Regions from separate parts of the Homo sapiens genome. Here region 1 is linked to region 2. Evidence: promoter capture Hi-C in 16 types of primary human blood cells and fetal thymus (Javierre and others, 2016). All regions are on one chromosome and are shown on one strand. Each heading gives the region's core, a stretch centred on a gene start or on the middle of the fragment in contact. The rest is flanking DNA. Distances are from core to core; before and after follow the strand shown.

What was found. Contacts are between HindIII fragments. The CHiCAGO score rates a contact against its expected background, and 5 or more counts as called.
Region 1: a contact is called between a fragment that was not itself captured here and the fragment with the promoter of SDAD1-AS1 in region 2, in 1 of 17 cell types (M2 macrophages). The highest score is 5.7, in M2 macrophages.

The regions. Positions count from the first base shown.
Region 1 is chr4:75,784,032-75,787,919 of GRCh38, reverse strand. It overlaps USO1 (USO1 vesicle transport factor), which reads right to left. Exons shown (of 24, transcript NM_003715.4): 10 at 718-858. Among named protein-coding and RNA genes, the nearest start is that of USO1, 61 kb to the right of the region's middle. The HindIII fragment of the contact is 2,488 bases long and covers 498-2,985 here.
Region 2 is chr4:75,979,480-75,983,503 of GRCh38, reverse strand. SDAD1-AS1 (SDAD1 antisense RNA 1) reads right to left here and starts at 2,714. Exons shown (of 3, transcript NR_125906.1): 1 at 2,539-2,714. It overlaps SDAD1 (SDA1 domain containing 1), which reads left to right. Exons shown (of 22, transcript NM_018115.4): 2 at 1,467-1,571; 3 at 2,034-2,132. The HindIII fragment of the contact is 11,776 bases long and covers 1-4,024 here.

The sequences.
Region 1 (3,888 bases), core at 492-2,991, 190 kb after region 2:
CACAATTACAACTCATGGATGAGAAAAATATATATTTAAAAAAGGATATAGGACTCTATTTGGCTTAGCAGGAATGGTATCAATACAGCTGTAAAAATATAAACCCCAACTACTGATTTAAATATAAATTCCATAAAATAATTATGAGGTGACATGAGGAAGTAAAGTGGGACTTACAGTAAGGACAATTGAGGCTGAAGGCAGTTATTTTTGTTATAAAATTTTTATTATTTGTACTTTCGATATTGCACGTGTTAATTTGAGAAAAATTTTAAAAATATAAACAAACTTTTTTTCTTCAAACTAACTTCTTTTTCTTATAGGTAAGCAACAGAGAATGCCACACATTAGGGGAAAAGAATTTACTATTCAATGAATCTGCCGGTTGAGTAAGACTAAGTCACTTTGTTCTCAAAATAAAAACGAAATCATACTGTGCACTCCTGTTGAATATAACAAAATTAATGAGAAATCTTTGTAGATGGATCTGCAAAGCTTTAACATTATTATTTATGTACTATAAAACTTGAGGGATGAGTATATCTTTTGGAATCAATACTTTTATCATTATGTGAATTATATTTTAGTAAGATCATTAAAAATTTTAACCTAAAAAATGGTTAACTATTGTAGTTTTTCCTTCAACAAATATCTAATTCTTCCTAGGATTCAGGATTTCAACTTCCACAGAGTTGGCTTTGACTTCATTTGCTTTACCTCAGTCAGGATATCAGCAGGAACCCCAGTAGCCATTAGGATAGTACAAAGCTGCTGCAATAACCCACACTGGAACATAGCCTTCTGGCAGCTACTGGTAGCACCAGGAGGGTTGGTGGGAGATACCAATACACGAACAAGCTGTGAAAGAAAGAGAAAACAAAATTTGTCTTTTAAAGATTTGAAAAGGCTTGAGGCAAATCTGATCTATGTGAACAAGAAAGTCTGCATGAAGTACTCCCTTAGCTGCTTAGCTACATTTAGGTGCTCTTTCTTTCGTGCTCCCATGGCAATAAGTTCTGTGATAGTAATATTACATTATGCCTCTTAAACTTAAGGTTGTCTTCTTCAGGTGACTGTGAACTCCCAGAGAGAAACTGCCTTGGTCATTTTTGTTTCCCAAAGAAGCATAGTACTTGTAACAGTACATATTTAATAAGTAAATGAATGAATAAGTTACAGAGTGGCAGATTTCTTTTCAAAGTTAATAATGAACTACCTAGTAAGAGAGCAGGTCTGAAAACAGAATGACCTGATGTGTGATAAATCTCCCCTAAACTGGAAATATTTAAAGAGAGGCTAAAACCAAAACTGGAGAGATGGTAAAAGATTCATGTATTAGGCATGGGGTGGGCTGCATTGATTGCTAATGCCAATTAAATCCCTATGATTCTATGATTACTTGGACTGTAAACATAAAATTTCAGAAACATGAAAAAAGTCATCTCAAATAACTATTTAACACAGTTATGTCTCCAAATTCATTTTACATGTGTGTCACATTTTAAAACTAGAGTTATGTGTATATATATGTGCAAAATCTTCTAAATCAAGATCAAATGGGGGTATTTATGATAATACCTTGTTAACAACAAAGTGCTATACAAACATTAACCATTATTTTATAGGAGATACACAGAAGTAATCAATGATTTAAGAGAGTAAACTAAAACACTTGTATTACTACAGCCGACACATATTGTGATCTATGGATTGACTCCACTAAGAAAGGGGATTTTTTGTGAGGGAGGAGTTAAATACTAAAACAAAAAAAAGTTTGAAAAGTGGTACTTTTTATTGTTGGTGAATAAAAAGGTAACCAGAAATCACTAGAATTAGAGAAAAACTTCAACCAGTAGTTAACTCAGTGAGTAATGACAAAACAGATTTAGATGTTTCCATGTCTGGCTTAACAGACATCTCAAAGAGGGTTCATTAATAAATTGATGTCACTAAAGAGAAGGTCAGGATTACATTGGTTCCTGTCCTTGGACTTTTCTAGTGAGATTTCTGGTGTTTTTTCCTCCCTTAATTTATTTCCCTCCTATCCTTACTACTTCTTTTCCTTCTTTTTTTGAGTATTTAAAACAAATACTACGCAATATGTCAATTGTACCACAAATAATTCTGTATGCATCTCCACTTGATATTTTTTGAAATATAATCATACCATTATTACAATGGACAAAATCAACAGTAATTTTCTACTATCCTCTAATAGCAGTTGAGTGTCTTTACTGATGATGTAAATAAAGAAAAAGGGAATATTTATGAGGATAAAAAGAGATCTAATAGCAACATGTAAATATATGAAATATTCACAAGGAATGAACATGTGTCATTCCAGAAAGCAAAAGTAAATTTACAGAAGTCATATCAGGACAGTTTATGACTTAATATATAAAGTTTCTAATAATTAAAACTACCCTAGAATGAAAATGATTATCTTATAAGGTTATGAACTTTCTGGGAGCTATTGGCAGTATCTTCCCAATAAAATGCCATAGAAGAGACTCCTGCAGGGATAAAAAGTAGACTAGCCATAAAACTATAATTTTTTAAAAAAATAAAATATTTTATAACTAAAAAACTTTTCAAAAGATGTTTTCCCTAAATATAGTCTGCAAAATTTGAATTAAAACTCAGCAAGCAGATCAATTCTGTTTTTAGTAGCTCAGAATGCAATCATGATAACTGTGATGATGAATAGTTCCAACACAGAATGTGTATGTCCCAACAGGAAAACAATGATGCATTTTTATTTAGTGTATAATAGAGAACTTAAAATCCAAGCAACTCTAAATAAAGTTATACATAAAGTATTCCAACAGGTTCTAACAGAATAGCAGAAGATAACTCCTGGCCTGTAAAGTCATGAGTGAATCTACTATTCAGTATTGCAGGTGGAGAATATATTAAAATGAATTAAACTCAGTTCCTCTGCTTTGGAGTTTACGGTCTTCACGACAAGTGTAAGAGATAAAAGCTTTACTAAGCTACAGAAAGTCAGTTTATTCACTTTTTAAAAGTAAAGAATTCTTAAAGAATCAACTTGTTATATAACGAGAATACTGTATTTTTCTGTTTACATGCTGTACTCTAATAATTTTTTGGTAATTTTTTTTTTTTTTCCTGAGATAGAGTCTCACTCTGTTCCCAGGCTGGAGTGCGTGGCGTGATTATGGTTCAATGCAGCCTCAACCTCCTGGGCTTAAGTGATCCTCCCCTTCAGCCTCCTGAGTAGTTGGGACAATAGGTGGACACCACCACACCGGGCTGATAAAGACCATGTTGCCTAGGTTGGTCTCAAACTCCTAAGCTCAAGTGATCCCCACCTGCCTTGGGCTCCCCAAGTGCTGGGATCATAGGTGTGAGTCACCACACCTGACCTACTTTACTTTTTAACAGTGACACTTCCTTCAGAATAATTCTTTACATAGTACCCTAAACCATAAAACATGTGTAGCTTCCTCAAACAATTTAAATTTTCACTGTTTGATACGAAATACATGCTTTTTTATATCATCAGATTCTCTCACCCTCTCTAATCACATTTTGGAAATTACTTTTCTAGAGGAATTTCCTTATTTAAGAAAGCAGTGTAGGCCGGGCATGTGGCTCACACCTATAACAGCAGCACTTTGGGAAGCTGAGGCAGGAGAATTGCTTGAGCTCAGGAATTCCTGACCAGCCTGGCAATACAGTGAGACCTCATGTCTACTAAAAATAAAAAATCCAGTCAGGTCTGGTGGCTTGCGCCTGTAGTCCCAGCTATTCAGGATGCTGAGGTGGGGGGATTTCTTGAGCCAGGGAGGTTGAGGCTGCAATAAGCTGTGAAGACACCACTGCACTCAGCCTAGGCAACTAAGTAAGAACCTGTCTCTTAAACAA
Region 2 (4,024 bases), core at 1,465-3,964:
ACCATCTCACGCCAGTTAGAATGGCAATCATTAAAAAGTCAGGAAACAGCAGATGCTGGAGAGGATGTGGAGAAATAGGAACTCTTTTACACTGTTGGTGGGAGTGTAAATTAGTTTAACCATTGTGGAAGACAGTGTGGCAATTCCTCAAGGATCTAGAACCAGAAATACCATTTGACCCAGCCATCCCATTACTGGGTATATACCCAAAGGATTATAAATCATTCTACTGTAAATACACATGTACACATATGTTTATTGCAGCACTATTCACAATAGCAAAGACTTTGAACCAACCCAAATGCCCATCAATGATAGACTAGATAAAGAAAATATGGCACATATATACCATGGAATACTATGCAGCCATAAAAAAGGATGAGTTCATGTCCTTGCAGGGACATGGATGAAGCTGGAAACCATCATTTTCAGAAAACTATCACAAGGACAGAAAACCAAACACCGCATGTTCTCACTCATAAGTGGGAGTTGAACAGTGAGGACACATGGATACAGGAAGGGGAACATCACACATTGGGGCCTGTTGGGGTGGGGGGCTAGGGGAGGGATAGCATTAGGAGAAATACCTAATGTGGATGACAGGTTGATGGGTGCAGCAAACCACCATGGCACATGTATACCTGTGTAACAAACCTGCACATTCTGCACATGTATACCAGAACTTAAAAGTATAATTTTTAAAAAGGGGTGGCAGTGGGGGGGTGGGATTTTGACTGGAGAGCTTCATGTACTTGAGATATAATTTATATTTCTGCCCTGTTATTTTTCTGCTGATTTGAGTGCTCTGCATACATGGATATGGTAGTAGGGGTCATTTATTTTTATTTTTATTTTGTGAGACAGGGCCTCCGTGTTGCCTAGGCTGGAGTGCAGTGGCATGATCATAGCTCACTGCAGTCTCAACCTCCCTGGGCTCAAGTGATCATCCCATTTCAGCCTGTTGAGTAGCTGGAATTACAGGTGCACGCCACCACACCCTGCTAATTTTTGTATTTTTTGTAGAGACAAGGTCTCCCTGTGTTACCCAGTTTGGTCTCGAACTCCTGGGCTCAAGTGATCCTCCCACTTTGGCCTCCCAAAGTGCTGGGATTACAAGTGTGAGCCACTACACCCAGCAGTCGGGATCATTTAGATAGTAACTGGCAGAACAGGGCTACAATCTGAATTTGGGATTCATGCTTCTCTGTTCTTACACCATGCTGCCTAAACTTGTAGTGATAATTCCAAGGAAAAGTTCTTTAGATTATCTGTGATGTGCTCAGGTCTTTAAAAAGCGCACTTTGAAGAATGCAGATAAGGCAAAAGGAGTGTTTTTATATACTTTTGCATTATCTTTTTCTCCATGTGATCGTCAACAGTTTCTACTAAGAATTTCTCTACTGAATGTCTGTACTGAGAAAGTCATGTAATACAATGTGACAAACTTAAATTTTATTTTTCTGCAGTTTCTACAGCAGTATAATCACTACAAATCCAATGTGGAGATTTTCAAATTGCAACCAAATAAACCCAGCAAAGAACTAGCAGAGCTGGTGATGTTTATGGCACAGGTAAGAATATAATTGCTTAAATAAAGACCAGTATTAACACACAGTTTGCTGAATGTTTTTTCACTAATACTCAACCTTATTCCACTCTGGAATGGGAACTTAATTAAAATATTTTTCTAACTTTCCCTTTTTGCAAATTTTATTTTCTCCCTATCATGAGTTAGAGAATGTCACTAGATCTTTTTGCATAACTAACCAGGACAAAACTTTAAGACTATTTTTTTTCTTCAAATTCATCATAAAAGCAGGTACTAAATCATGCCATAAATATTACTAAGACTAGAGAAACCATGATAAATGTTGGAGAAATTAACATGTAGAAGGAAAAGAAGGTTGTTTGGAACCATCTACTTCTATGAAACATAGCCTTTTACTCTCGTTTTGCAGAACATCCTAAATGTATGCATCTGAATTATAGGAGAGAAAGAGAGCAACTTCAGAAGAGCCTTTGCTTTGTTACAGATTAGTCACTGCTACCCAGAGTACCTAAGTAATTTTCCTCAAGAGGTGAAAGATCTTCTCTCCTGCAATCATACCGTATTGGATCCAGATCTGCGAATGGTAGGACCAGTAGTTGGATGAATAAATTGTGCTGTGTTCATGTGTGCTGCGTTCATATATATTTAAATGAGAACAGCCTCTAAGCTAATTATCTTCAGAAAACGTAAATTATAATGTATTATCCTTTCCTAAAAATCCTTCTATGGCTTCTCATTTATACTTAGAGTAAAACGGAAACTTAATAACCTGGCTCAAAAGTGCCTGCATGATCTGCTTCCAGCCTGTGTTTCTGATATCATATTGTTTTCAGCTACACTGTGATCTTTCTATTCTTCCAGCACACTAACCCTACAGGATGCTCTTTAACCTTTTGAGATGATTTCTTCTAGTCATTCAAATCTCATATGCATGTAGAATCCTAATCACAACTTGTCATTTTTATAATGCCTTAAATTAGTAAACTTACCCATTAGACAGTCAGTTTGAGCATTTCATCATTGTCCTTTTAGTGGTTGGGGTTGAGTCCTGGCTGACATTCCCTTCACGAGGCCGGTGTACCTGTTTGCCCCACTTGTTGTGAATGTCAGCTGCTGGTGGCCCTCAGCTGCCCTTTCTCTGCAACATTGTCCTCAGCTAAATCGGAGTCCTAGTGCCTGGGAGGTGTCCTCCTACCCTAGTAGCCCACAGCCCATTATCATGTGGTACAAAAGCCCAGCCCATTACCTCAGGGTGGCTCTGACTCCAATGCAGGATGTGCTCCAGTGTTTTCCTGTGTTGGGACTAAAGCTAGTCTCCAGTCAAGGGCACATCCTTGCTTTGCTTTGCGTGTCTCTGCACTATCCTCCTTCCTTCACTTCCTTTCTGAGATCATACCCCCAACAAATCACTTGTAATAAATCAGTCTCTGCTTCTAGGGACTAAGACATTTCCAAATTTAATACATCTGCTTTTCAAACCTCTTTACAGCAGATAAGTACGCAAATATGATCACAAAACGTACTAATATCCTATAGCACAACTTGTAGAAATGCCAAGTCTTTAGATGAATATTTGTTTTCTTTTAGACTTTCTCAGGTTTTTTGTATTTCTATCATTTTTATACTACTTTAGGATTTTAGTAATTTGATTAGGCCAAAAAGAAAAAGAATACTGTCTCAGACAAGCCAAGGTTTCAGGCCCTGGGTTGTCAACTGATTGATACTCAGCTGGTACATGGGACCTGGCAGTATAGCCCAAGGGACTCCAAACTTGAACCCCTAGTCTAAAGGCTTTTACCTATGTCATGTTACTCTTGAAGTCCTTGTAGGTCATAGAGATTTGATATTTTGAGTATAGAGACTTAATGGCTTTCCAAGTAATTAGGATTTCTTTAAGTTTTATTTTCCTGGCAGTACCCCACCAAACTGGTCTGTGGGCATTATTAAATTAATATATATGCCAGGTGCACCTGTAGTCCCGGCTTCTTGGGAGGCTGAGGCAGGAGGATTGCTTGAGGTCAGGAGTTTGAGGCTGAGGTGTGGTATGAGCATGCCTGTGAATAGCCACTACACTGCAGCCTAGGCAACATAGCAAGATCCCACCTCTAAATTTTTTTTTAAATGGAAAAAAATGTGTATGTATATTTCTTTATAGTGCTTTATGATGATTAGTAGGTTTTTAAAAAATAATAAAGATTTCCGCCAGGCGCGGTGGCTCACGCCTGTAATCCCAGCACTTTGGGAGGCCGAGGCAGGAGGATCACCTGAGGTCGGGAGTTCGAGACCAGCCTGACCTACATGGAGAAACCCTGTCTCTACTAAAAATACAAAATAAGCCGGGCATGGTGGTGCGTGCCTGTAATCCCAGCTACTTGGGAGGCTCAGTCAGGAGAATTGCTTGAACCTGGGAGGCGGAGGTTGCAGTGAGCCGAGATCGCGCCATTGCACTCCAGCCTCTGTCTCAAAAAAAAAAAA